3 separate regions of the Homo sapiens genome follow, and all the other regions are linked to region 3. Evidence: promoter capture Hi-C in human tissues and cell types (Jung and others, 2019). All regions are on one chromosome and are shown on one strand. Each heading gives the region's core, a stretch centred on a gene start or on the middle of the fragment in contact. The rest is flanking DNA. Distances are from core to core; before and after follow the strand shown.

Evidence for each region. The method cuts DNA at HindIII sites, captures the fragments that hold promoters and counts their contacts. A contact is called where the count stands out against the background at its distance.
Region 1: a contact is called between a fragment that was not itself captured here and the fragment with the promoter of NACC2 in region 3, in 4 of the 25 tissues and cell types used here (IMR-90 fibroblasts, dorsolateral prefrontal cortex, heart right ventricle and 1 more).
Region 2: a contact is called between the fragment with the promoter of CAMSAP1 here and the fragment with the promoter of NACC2 in region 3, in 1 of the 25 tissues and cell types used here (dorsolateral prefrontal cortex).

The regions. Positions count from the first base shown.
Region 1 is chr9:135,840,277-135,844,579 of GRCh38, reverse strand. All of the region lies in intron 7 of CAMSAP1 (calmodulin regulated spectrin associated protein 1), which reads left to right. Among named protein-coding and RNA genes, the nearest start is that of CAMSAP1, 65 kb to the left of the region's middle. The HindIII fragment of the contact is 5,758 bases long and covers 1-4,303 here.
Region 2 is chr9:135,906,247-135,910,571 of GRCh38, reverse strand. It overlaps CAMSAP1 (calmodulin regulated spectrin associated protein 1), which reads left to right and starts at 3,026. Exons shown (of 17, transcript NM_015447.4): 1 at 3,026-3,572. The coding sequence starts at 3,413. CAMSAP1-DT (CAMSAP1 divergent transcript) reads right to left here and starts at 2,739. Exons shown (of 2, transcript XR_007061860.1): 1 at 1,653-2,739. RefSeq lists silencers at 2,458-3,137, 3,178-3,287, 3,368-3,437, 3,838-3,887. The HindIII fragment of the contact is 39,877 bases long and covers 1-4,325 here.
Region 3 is chr9:136,092,362-136,096,539 of GRCh38, reverse strand. It overlaps NACC2 (NACC family member 2), which reads left to right and starts at 1,251. Exons shown (of 6, transcript NM_144653.5): 1 at 1,251-1,351. RefSeq lists silencers at 789-888, 1,209-1,338 and an enhancer at 2,544-3,235. The HindIII fragment of the contact is 19,137 bases long and covers 1-4,178 here.

The DNA.
Region 1 (4,303 bases), core at 684-3,183, 250 kb after region 3:
TGGATTCATTTTGAATTTCGTTGCTCTTGCTTCTCTGGTTCTTTCAATTGTGATGTTTGAGCATCAATTTCAGATCTTTCCAGCTTTCTGTTATGGGCATTTAGTGCTATAAATTTCCCTCTAAACACTGCTTTAGCTGTGTCCCAGAGATTCTGGTACATTACCTCTTTGTTCCCATTTGTTTCAAAGAACTTCTTTATTTCTGCCTTAATTTCGTAATTTACCCAGTAGTCATTCAGGAGCAGGTTGTTGAGTTTCCATGTAGTTGTGCGGTTTTGAGTGAGTTTCTTCATCCTGAGTTCTAATTTGATTGCACTTTGGTCTGAGAGATTGTTTGTTATGATTTCCGTTCTTTGGCATTTGCTGAGGAGTGTTTTACTTCCAATTATGTGGTCAATTTTAGAGTAAGTGCTACGTGGTGCTGAGAAGAATGTGTATTCTGTTGATTTGGGGTGGAGAGTTCTCTTGATGTCTATTAGGTCTGCCTGGTCCAGAGCTGAATTCAAGTCCTGAGTATTGTTAATTTTCTGTCCCGATCTGTCTAATATTGACAGTGGGGTGTTAAAGTCTCCCACTATTATTGTGTGGCAGTGTAAGTCTCTTTCTAGGTCTCTAAGAACTTGCTTTATGAATCTGGGTGCTCCTCTATTGGGGGCATACAGATTTAGGATAGTTAGCGCTTCTTTTTTTTTTTTTTTTTTTTTTTGAGACGGAGTCTTGCTCTGTCGCCCAGGTTGGAGAGCAGTGGCGCGATCTTGGCTGACTGCAAGCTCCGCCTCCCAGGTTCACGCCATTGTCCTGCCTCAGCCTCCCAAGTAGCTGGGACTACAGGTGCCCGCCACCACGCCCAGCCAATTTTTTTTGTATTTTTTAGTAGAGACGGGGTTTCAGCGTGTTAGCCAGGATGGTCTCGATCTCCTGACCTCGTGATCCACCTGTCTCGGCCTCCCAGAGTGCTGGGATTACAGGCATGAACCACTGCGCCCTGCCAGCTCTTCTTATTGCATTGATCCCTTTACCATTATGTAATGCCCTTCTTTGTCTTTTTTGATCTTTGTTGGTTTAAAGTCTGTTTTATCAGAGACTAGGATTGCACCCCCTGCTTCTTTTTTGCTTTCCATTTGCTTGGTAAATGTTCCTCCATCCCTTTATTTTGAGTCTTTGTACATGAGATGGGTTTGCTGAATACAGCACACTGATGGGTCTTGACTCTTTATCCAATTTGCAGTCTGTCTTTTTATTTATTTATTTTGAGATGGAGTTTCGCTCTTGTTGTCCAGGCTGGAGTGCAATGGTGTGGTCTTGGCTCACTGCAGCCTCTGCCTCCCGGGTTCAAGCGATTCTCCTGCCTCAGCCTCCCGAGTAGCTGGGATTACAGGCCTGTGCCACCACACCTGGCTAATTTTGTATTTTTAGTAGAGACGGGGTTTCTCCATGTTGGTCAGGCTGGTCTCGAACTCCCGACCTCAGGTAATTCACCTGCCACGGCCTTCCAAGGTGCTGGGATTACAGGTGCGAGCCACCACACCCGGCCCAGTCTGTGTCTTTTAACTGGGGGCATTTAGCCCATTTACATTTAAGGTTAATATTGTTATGTGTGAATTTGATCCTGTCATTATGATGCTAGCTGCTTATTTTGCCCGTTAGTTGATGCAGTTTCTTCATAGATAGTGTTGATGGTCTTTACAATTTGGCATCTTTTTGCAGTGGCTGGTACCAGTTTTTCCTTTCCATGTTTAGTGCTTCCTTCAGGAGCTCTTGTAAGGCCTGGTGGTGACAAAATCTCTCAGCATTTGCTTGTCTGTAAAGGATTTTGTTTCTCCTTCGCTTATGAAGCTTAGTTTGGCTGGATATGAAATTCTGGGTTGAAAATTCTTTTCTTTAAGAATGTTGAATATTGGCCCTCACTCTCTTCTGGCTTTTAGGGTATCTGCAGAGAGATCTGCTGTTAGTTTGATGGGCTTCCCTTTGTGGGTAACCTGACCTTTCTCTCTGGCTGCACTTAACATTTTTTCCTTCATTTCAACCTTGGTGAATCTGATGATTGCGTCTTGGGGTTGCTCTTCTCGTGGAGTGTGCTGTTCTCCGTATTTCCTGAATTTGAATGTTGGCCTGTCTTGCTAGGTTGGGGAAGTTCTCCTGGATAATATCCTGAAGTTTGTTTTCCAACTTGGTTCCATTCTCCCCGTCACTTTAGGTACATCAGTCAAACGTAGGTTTGGGCTTTTCACATAGTCCCATATTTCTTGGAGGCTTTGTTTGTTCCTTTTCATTCTTTTTTCTCTAATCTTGTCTTCATGCTTTATTTCATTAAGTTGATCTTCAATCTCTGATATCCTTTCTTCCACTTGATCGATTCAGCTACTGATACTTGTGTATATTTCATGAAGTTCTCGTGCTGTGTTTTTCAGCTCCGTCAAGTCATTTGTGTTCTTCTCTAAGCTGGTTATTCTAGTTAGCAATTCCTCTAACCTTTTTTCAAGGTTCTTAGCTTCCTTGCATTAAGTTAGAACATGCTCCTTTAGCTCAGAGGAATTTGTTATTCCCCACCTTCTGAAGCCTACTTCTGTCAGTTTGTCAAACACATTCTTCGTCCAGCTTTGTTCCCTTGCTGGCAAGGAGTTGTGATCCTTTGGAGGAGAGGAGGCATTCTGGTTTTTGGAATTTTCAGCCTTTTTGCACTGGTTATTCCTCATCTTTGTGGATTTATCTACCTTTGGTTTTTGATGTTGGTGACCTTTGGATGGGGTTTTTGTGTGGATGTCCTTTTTGTTGATGTTGATGCTATTCCTTTCTGTTACTTTTCCTTCTAAAAGCCAGGTCCCTCTGCTGCAGGTCTGCTGGAGTTTGCTGGAGGTCCACTCCAAACCCTGTTTGCCTGGATATCACCAGCAGAGGTTGCAGAACAGCAAAGATTGCTGCCTGTTCCTTCCTCTGGAAGCTTTGTCCCAGAAGGGCACCCTCCGGATGTCAACCGGAGCTCTCCTGTATGAGGTGTCTGTTGACCCCTGCTGGGAGGTAAACACCCAGTCAGGAGGCACGGGAGTCAGGGACCTACTTGAAGGCAGTCTGTCCCTTAGCAGAGCTTGAGCGCTGTGCTGGGAGAGCCACTGATCTCTTCAGAGCCAGCAGGCGGTGATGTTTAAGTCTGCTGAGGCTATGCCCATAGCCACCCCTTCCCCTAGGTGCTCTGTCCCAGGGAGATGGGAGTTTTATGTATAAGCCCCTGACTAGGGCTAATACTTTTCTTTCAGAGATGCCCTGCTCAGAGAGGAGGAATCTAGAGAGGCAGTCTGGCTACAGCGGCTTTGCCCAGCTCTGGAGGGCTCCACCCAGTTTAAACTTCCTGGCGGCTTTGTTTACACTGTGAGGGAAAAACCCACCTACTCAAGCCTCAGTAATGGTGGACGTCCCTCCTCCCACCAAGCTCGAGCACCCCAGGTCGACTTCAGACTACTGTGCTGGCAGCGAGAATTTCAAGCCAGTGGATCTTAGCTTCCTGGGCTCTGTGGGGGTTGGATCCACTGAGCTAGACCACTTGCCTCCCTGACTTCAGCACCCTTTCCAGGGGAATGAACAGTTCTGCCTCGCTGGCGTTCCAGGCACCACTAGGGTATGAAAAAAAACTCCTGCAACTAGCTCGGTGTCTGCCCAAATGGTCGCCCAGTTTTGTGCTGGAAACCCAGGGCCCTGGTGGTGTAAGCACTGAAGGGAATCTCCTGGTCTGTGGGTTGCGAAGACTGTGGGAAAAGCATAGTATTTGGACCAGAATGCACCATTCCTCACGGCTTCCCTTGGCTGGAAGAGGGAGTTCCCCGACCCATTGTGCTTCCTGGGTGAGGTGATTCCCCACCGTGCTTGCCCTCTGTGGGCTGCACCCACTGTCTAATCAGCCCCAATGAAATGAGCTGGGTACCTCAGTAGGAAATGTAGAAATCACCCGCCTTCTGTGTTGATCTTGCTGGGAGCTGCAGATTGGAGCTGTTTGATCTTGCCAGCCACCTTCCTCCTGCCTTTCTTCACCCTTTTCATGATACTGTCCAGCTCAAGAAGGAAGTCTTGTTTTTCCTGCTGCTTGTGAGGTGGTTTCACCTGTTCTGCCTGGTGGGAAAGGCCTCTTCCCATCGGACCCCGTCGTGAGTCATGGCTGGAGCCCCCTTCTTCTTGCGGGGCTCCTCTTCTTGCCTGCTGGTCCTTAGGAATGAGGAGTCAGGAATGCTAGGAAGCAGCTAAGCTTCAGTTCACTCTGGGATGAGACATAGCGGGGGAGGGGGACCTCAGAGTCATGGGCCCGCTCTGCACC
Region 2 (4,325 bases), core at 1,777-4,276, 190 kb after region 3:
TGGGTCCAGTGGCTTGTGCCTGTGATCCCAGCTACTCAGGAGGCTTGAGGTGGGAGGATCAGTTGAAGCCAGGAATTGGTGACCAGCCTGGATGATACAGTGAACAGCCATCTTAAAAAAAAAAAAAAAAAAAAAAAGAGGAACACTTCCAACTCATTTTATGAGGCCCAGTAGGACACTGATACCGATACCAAAACCAGACACAGACACCACAAGAAAACTTCAGACCAGTATCTATGATGAATATGGATAAAAAAAATCACTCAACAAAATTGTATTAAACTGAATCCAGGAAGACAGATACTCCATGACCAACTGGAATTTATCTGAACGCAGGGGATAAGTGTCTTTTCAATATCTGAAAGTCAATTAATGTAACACACCACATTACTAGAACAAGGAAAAAAACCCATGATCATCATCTCAATGGATGTGGAAAAATCATTTAACCAAATCTGACACGTTTTCATGATAAACACACTCAACAAACTAGAAATAGAAGATACTTCCTCGGCTGGGCGTGGTAGCTCACGCCTATAATCCCAGCATTTTGGGAGGCCCAGGGGGGTGGATTACTGGAGGTCAGGAGTTCAAGACCAGCCTGGCCAACATGGTAAAACCCCATCTCTACTAAAAATACAAAACTAGCTGGGCGTGGCGGCCTGTGCCTGCAATCCCAGCTACTCAGGAGGCTGAGGCAGGAAAATCGCTTGAACCTGGGAGGCAGAGGTTGCAGTGAGCCAAGATCCAGCCACTGTACTCCAGCCTGGGTGACAGAGTGAGACACTATCTCAAACAAACAAAAAATAGGTTTTATCAGGTTGAGGAAGTACCCTTTTTTTTAATGATTTTTAGACAGTTTCCCTTTTTTAGCTGGGATTACAGGCACCGGCCACCAACCTCAGCTAACTTTTTGTATTTTTAGTAGAGATGGGATTTCTCCATGTTGGCCAGGCTGGTCTCAAACTCTGGACCCCACGTGATCCGCCCGCCTCGACCTCCCAAAGGGTTGGGATTACAGGCGTGAGCCACTGTGCCCAGCCTGATAAAACCTATTTTTTAAGCACCCACAGCTATCATCATACCCAAAGGTGAAAGACTGGATGCCTCCTCCCTGAAATCAGGAGCAAGACAAGGATGTCCACTCTTGCTGCTTCTAGTCAATATTGTACTGGAGCTTCTAGATAGGGCAGCTAGGCAAGGAGAAGAAATAAAAGGCATCCAGATTAGAAAGGAAGAGATAAACTGATCTCTATTCACAAATGACACGCTTTTGTATAAAATCCCAAGGAATCCACTAAAACACTAGAACAACTAATAAATGCCACTAAAAGACAAGAAGAACTAATAAATGGGTTTAGCAAGGTTGCAGGATAAAAGATCAGTACACAAAAAGCCCTTAGAGTCACACTTGACCTTTCCGGGTCACACTCCACATCCCATATAACAGTAGATGGCCTCCTGCCTCCTCCTCAGCCCTTCCTAGTCTGTTCTTCACCCAGGAGTCAGAATGACCCTTTTAAAGGGTTAGTCATATCCTTCCGTGTGCTCAGTCTTCCGAAGGCTGCCCATTTCCTGCAGAGAAGGGGCCACAGTTCTGACTGTGCAGGACCTGTCTGCATCCCTCCATGTCCCCACCTCCCATTTCCTACCAGTCCTTCCAGCTCCTGCGTTCTCGACTTAGTGGCCTCTACTGTGTTTCTTACACTCCAGGCTCTCGTGTCTCAGAGGCTCTGTCTGCCGTGCTCCTTGCTCAAGACAGTACTTCTGCAGATATCCTTACCCTCGACGCCCACGTCCCGCCGGTCTTTGCTCAAATAAGTGCCCTCCTCCTATGGCTTTCCTTGACCGCTCTGCCCTGTCCACCTCGTGTTCTTTTCAGACGGCTGACTCAAGAAAAAATAGACAATCTCAACAGACCTATAACAAGTGAAGAGACTCAATTAGTAACCAAAAAACTATGAATCAAATAAGTCATCAAAAAAGCCCAGGCCCAAATGGCTTCAAGGTTGAATTGAAGCCTGCACGTGGGTTGGTATGTGAATGACGGACTGCCTGGGTCCTCTGGGCACCTGGCATTTCATACATGTTCCGCCTCTGGCACGGGGTGTCTCGACCAGGTACAGACAGGCTGGGAGCCCCGCGCCGGGCGCCCGCTCCCTGGAAGCTCGACCTCTCCCTGCCGTCAAGGCGCCGGTGGGCGGCACGTGGGCCGGCTCTCCCGGGGGCAGTTCTCTATTTCGCTGGTGAGGTTCTCAGACCAAATCCTCGGAATGCAAACTCTCACGGCGTTCCCGTAATTCTCAGCCCAGCGCGGGCCCCGACGCAGGCTCCAGGGGAACGAAGTCAGCGTCCCTTCCGGGGGATGCGCCGGCGGGGCCGCACCTGTTTCTGCCTCAGGGGTCCAAACGCCCACCTTCCCTGCACCGGGACGGGGGTCTGGAGACTGGCACGTCCACCTGGTGCCCGTCTGCTGGGCTGTCGCCTGCCGAGGTCGCCGCCGGCCACACCCACGAGGTCCCCAGGGCGCCGGCGGCGAGACCTCGGCCGGCCAGGGGGCCGGGCTGTGGCTGAGGTGGGACGAGCCAGGGCCGGGGAGGAGACACGGCGCTAAAAGAGGGCAGCTGCGGGCTCGGCAGGATCCCCGCCGCCGACCCACTCCACCCACCCCGCGCCGCCCACTCCCCGCTGCCTACGCCGCGCTCCACACCGCGGGCCTTAGAGCCTGAGGAAAGCAACGGGGCAGGCGCGGACCAGGGCGGGTCCTACTGCGCCTGCGGAAGCGGGCGGGGAGGGGCGGGTCGACGCTCACTGCGCCTGCGGAAAGGGGCGGGGCAGGCACAGGCCTGCGGGTGCCACCTACTGCGCCTGCGGAAAGGGGCGGGGCGGGCGCGGGCTGGCGGGCGGTGCCTACTGCGCCTGCGGAAAGGGGCGGGGCAGGCGCGAGAAGGGAGCGGAGCTGGGGGCGGGGTCGAGGGCGGGGTGGCGGGCGGTGCCTACTGCGCCTGTGCGAGGCCCCGGCGGTGAGCGCGCTCCCGCTCCTTGGCCACCGCCTCAGCCGCTGTCGCCGCCGCCGCCGCTCACCCGGGACCGCGCACGCGCTGCCACCGCCCCCGGCCCGCTCCCGCCCCCGCGCCCGCCCCCGCCCCCGGCCCGCGCCCTCCTGCCGCCGCCTCTTTGGGCCGCGGGCTCGGCACCTCCTCCGCTCGGGCTCAGCGCCCGCAGCATGCAGCAGCCGCGGGGGCGGCGACGGCGGCGGCTGTGAGGTGAGGCGGGGGCCGCGCTCGGGCGCCCCTCCCGGCTGGCCGGCTGCGGGGCCGAGTGGTGGCTCGGGGCGCACCGGGCCCGGCGCGGCGAGGGGCGGCGGCGCCTTTGTTGCGGCCGGGCCGCCGCCTCAGCCCTTTGTCTGCAGATGGTGGACGCGAGCGGCCGCGCCGCCGCCGAGGGCTGGAGGAAGATGGAGGCCCCGCCGGACGGCGCCGCCGACCTCGTGCCCCTGGACCGCTACGACGCGGCGCGCGCCAAGATCGCCGCCAACCTGCAGTGGATCTGCGCCAAGGCCTACGGCCGAGGTGGGCCGGGTGAGGGGCGCGGGGCGGGGGCCAGGGGCGCGGGCCGGGGCCGGGGGACGCGGCCGGGGTCCGGCCGGGTCGGGGTCCGCGCGCCGCGCCTTTGTGCCGCGTCCGCACAGGGTCGGGGCTGGGCCGGCCGCCTCCGAGGTCCTGGCGGCGCCCGGGCAACGCGGAGCGTGGGGACGCGGTCACCTGGCGAGTGGGCGTCCCTGCGGCGGAGGGCGGCGTGGGTCGGGGCTTCCGCTCCTATTTCGGGAGTGCCCCCAGCCTCCCGTTGGCGGCGGCGGCGGCGGGAAGGAGCTGCCCGGTTCTGGGCGCAGGGAGGGACCATGGGGACGCGGGGCCGCCGTCTGAGGCGCCGCTTCCCGGCGCGCCGGGCATCGTCCAGTGCTGGACCTGTGATTCCGAGCCTTGCACTTGTTATGAATTTTGATGCTTACAAGCTGTCAGCTGTTGAATTCCCCAACTAGAAATTGCGTATTCCGCGCATTGTGCTTAATCATAATGATCCCCTTTGGTTAATTCCTGTTTGGAAGAACTAGGTAACCTTGTTACTCAGTCCAGTTTGTTAGGCCCTAATGTGCTTAGTGGATTAAGACGCTTCTGTTTCGTGCCCTGGGAACAGGACAGACCTAGTGATTCTCGTCAGTGGCTGACTTCTTTATTAATTTCAGGTGCTTTGTTTCAGGTACAATTAAAGGTTAATATTTCTGCAATCCTCTTTTCATTTGAAGCATTCTTAAAATATTTGCC
Region 3 (4,178 bases), core at 2-2,501:
AAGGCAAGCCAGGGAGTGAAGTGTGTGTGTGTGTGTGTGTGTGTGTTCTGGACGCAGAGCTGAATAGAACCTAAAGTTGGGGTCAAGGGCCAGTCTGTGGCCAAGATCAAGGGCCTAGCTTGAGGTTGGGGTGACAAGAACCTGGCCAAGCTTCTGATGATTTGTCCAGGGAATGACCTTGGCTGACTGTGCCAGAAGGGCTGTAGCCCCAGGTTTCTGATCCCCAGAGCCCCAAAGGCGTTCTCTGGGATGCTGGTGGCCATCTCCTTCTCAACCCTTCTCCCAGCGCCCTCGCTCGGGACCACTGAGGCGGTATCACTCCATTCTCCTGCAAGGACCCTTGAGCGTGCTGTGGGAGTGAGGCTGGCTTAGCCTCTGAGGACCACTGCAGCCTGTCCTGACCTCAGGCCCCAGGTTAGGGGGCAGCTGAGGAGGGGTCTCTGGGTCTTTCCGGGTGTGTGGCCGTTTTATTTCCGTGCCCTTGTTTTAAAACTGCACCTCTGTCCTCAGGAGCGTGGCCTTGGGCAGATGGAGAGCTGCGTGGCCGGTGCCGGAATGACTGTCAACGCCCCAGTGCGCCCGGATCACACCAGGCCTGAAGGCAGCGCCAGGCCCAGTCCAGGCAGCTTGCAGTTCCCGGGCCGCAGGGACGGGCGCCGGAGCCCCGCAGACGTTCGCCCAAGGGCGCTCCCGTATCCTCGTCTTTCACGGCCCGCCTGAGCGTCCAGGGCGGCTGCGGATGCGCGCACTTCCCCCGCCCGGATCCCGGAGGCTGCACCGTGCGGACGCGACTGCCGCGGGCAGGGCGCGCGCCGGGGGCGGGGTAGGGGGGCCCGGGGGCTCTCCCGGGCTTAGCGAGTCCGGCCGAGGCCGGGGCCCGGGGAGGGCGGAGGGCGGCGCTCCAGGTCCTTTCCCGACCCGGCCGCCGAGCTCCGTCCTCTGCGCCGCGGCGTCCGGCTCCCGCCGGGTGTCCCGCGCAGGGTCGACCGCCGGCAGCTCCGGAAGGAGGACGCGCGAGGGGCGAGGAGCTGCCGCCTCCCCTCCCCAGCGCTCGGGGTTCCCCACGCCCCGCCGGCCCCCACTGGGGACCCTCCCGGCCCCCGGACCCCAGCCCCGACCCCGGGAGCCCACCTGGCTGCCAGTGCGCGCGCGCGCGCGGCCGGCGCGCTGTCCCTTTAACGGCCCGCGGGCACCTCCCCCGCCGCCGCCCCGCCCCCGCCGCGGTGCGGCCGCCGGTGCTGGGCGAGGTCGGAGAAAGTCCATGGGAGCCGGAGCGCCGGGACGCCAAGCACTTCCTGCCGCGGGCGGCGCGCCGCAGCTGCCCAGGCCGGACCGGGCCGGGCGCCCGCAGGTACCGCCAACTTGGCGCGCGCGGCCGCCCCCGGGTTACGCCGCCGGGCGGGGTCGTCCCACGGGCCGGGCCCGCACTTCCCGCAAACTCCGCGGCCGCCCAACTTGGCGCGAGCCCCCTGCCGCAGTGCCGGCCGCGCGGGGCGGGTGCGGCCGAGTTCCGCGCCGGCCCGGGCGTGCGCGCGGGAACCGGCCTCGGGAGCCCGCGGAGGGGGGCCGGGCGGGGCCGGGGGGTCCCGGCGGAGGCGCCCGCGACCCCGGGCCGGGACGCCGCGCCGCGCGTTCGGGGAGACCCCGGCTCCGGGCGTCCCGGGGCGCTCCCCGCCGCCTGCTGGGTTTCCCTGGATTTCTGGGGACCCGCGCGGCCTCCCCAGGGACCCGACTGGCCGATCCAGCCCTCCGGGTGGGGAAGCCGGGGCAGGACTGGCCCGGGGCCAGGGCGGAGGTACCCACCCCTCCCGGCGCATCTGCGCAGCTGCCTGGCCCAGCCGGGCCCGCGCCTCGCCCTCCCGGTCCAGGTGGGCCCGTTCGTGGGTCGTCACCGCCTCCCGCGCCTCCCCCACTCGGGCCCCAGCCTGGGGAGAAACTGGGGTCCGGCCGCAGGGGGAGGGGGCTCTGCCTCTTGCCAGCTTCTGTGCCTCTGCGGAGCTGAGGTCGGGGGGCCCCAGCTCCTTCTCTAAGAAACTCAGCGGAGCCCGGGGCCCGCCGCGCACCCCGCACGGCCAGGGCGGACCGAGGCCTTCCGACGGAGTTTCCTGCTTCTCTTGCTGGGATCGTGTGGGGTCGGAGGTCAGAGGTCACCTCCCAGCCCCTCTGCCAGGCTCTGGGGGAAGTTTGGTCTTGGACTCTCGTCGTGGAGCCGCTTAAACCTGTGGGTCTGAAGGCCGCGAGGCCGGGTCCCTGGAGTTGGCCTCCCAGGCCGTTCCACTCCCTCCCCCAACCCCCGCGCGGGGCCTCCGGATTGGAGGTGTTTCACCCACGTGCTGGTGGGCCCGTCTCCCTGGGCCGCTGGGTGCCCTGAGCTGTGTTCTCTGCTGCGCGTTCCTTCCTGTGTGTGGCGGGGGTGCTGACCCGGGGGTGCCCAAGGCAGCCCGGACTCCCATCCCGTGGAGCTGCCTCCGGGAGCGCGTGCACCTTGGTGTTCCCGCCCGCCAGCGCGGCCGCACTCTCCTGCCAGAGTCCGTGTCCCTCCAGGTCGCCCCTTCTTCTCACCCACCCCTCTTTTCGTCTGGCAGGCTCCTGACCTCCTTCCCTCCTGTTCTCCAGTGGGACACTCAGCTCAGCATTCTGCAGGGTGTTTTAGCCTGTAGCACCCCCCAGCAGGGGCGCCTAGAGTTAGGTCAGGGTTCAGGCAGCCCCCGCCCCACCCGCCACCTCTCAGCCACCCACCCCTTCTTCTCCCGGCCACCGTTGGAGCACCCCTCTGGTCCTCTGTGGGGCCTTTCCCAGCCCCTCCCTTAAAGAGGCCTCTTGGCGTTTTCCCCTGGGGTCACTGTTGGGTGGTAGCTGGGCCAGAGTCCAAGGGGAGGAAATAAAAGGAGCTGCCACCCAAGGTGGTGGCCCCCTGTCCTTTCGGCAAAGCCACTTGGAATGGGCACAGAGAGTGGAACAAGATATCACTTGTCACTTCTTAGTGGCCAGGGATCCTTTCGCAGTGGTCACACCCAGGGCTCGATGGTGCTGGCCCTGGCCTGGCGGGAAGGCGGGGAGGAGCCACCCGGGAGATCTCCTGCTGGGAGCAGTGGGAGCTGGGCTGCTACAGGCTGCGAGAACAGGCTCTGTTCTTTACCACCGGCTGCTGGAAGGGTTCGCAGGGCTGCTCTGCCCTGGGCAGGGGGCTAGTGGTGACTTTTAAAAAATTCTTCAATCCTCCCTTTGTTTTCCAATTAAAGCATGAGGCTGCATTATTCATGAAACAACAGTGACGATCTTGGTGCTGAGCGGTTCTTCCAGGCCTGCACTCCTCTTGGCCTCTGCCTCCGGAGTCCTGCTTTCCTGGTTTGTGGGCAGTGTGGTCTCCCAGGCCCGAGGGATGGAATGGGGAACCAAGGTGTTGTCCTTTTCGGGATGTTGAGTTCCCAAGGTTCCACCTTGTGCCCCTTCCTCTGAGGTCTGTGCCTCTGACCTGTGTCCCTGGAACGCACAGGGCACCGAGTGCCCAGTGGCCCCAGCCACCGTCAGTGGGGCAGAGCCCATGTTCCTTCCTCAGCCAGCCCTGTTCTAGCCACCTCCACACACTGTCCCCAGGCTGCCTCTCTGCATCTCACAGCCCCTTGGGGTCACTCCATCCCCTTTGCAGGGTCACGCAGTGGGTTCCGAGATCCAGTTGGACTGTGGCCGGTGGGATGAGGGTCGGAGTCCACAGGGGGGCAGCAGGTGGCACCCCTTACCCCAGGATACACCAGCATGTTTCTCCGGAGAACCAAGGCCTTCTACAGACCCCAGTGTAACGAACACATTTGGGAACTTGACTATGGGGCCCCCTGACTCTGCTGCTCCTCCGGCCCAGTCCACCTTCACCTTGGTAGCACATGTCCCTGCCTCAGTGGCCCAGGCTGACCAGCCTCCCATTGTGGTTCTGAGGACAAGGTAGGCCACCTTCCACTTCAGGGTGACATTTCTGGCCTGGGCTGAGGAAACCTGGGGCTGGGCTTCCAGGCGTGGCTCGAAGGAGAAGCAAAGCCCTGTGGTGTGAGGCCGTGGAGCGCCCTCCAAGGCAGGAGAGAAGTAGCGCTAGCCCGTCTGGACGCTGGACCTGAGCCGCCGTCTGATGCATGTGGGCAGGTGCGGGAGTTTGTGAGGTCTGACTGGGTCTGGTCTCACTGGGG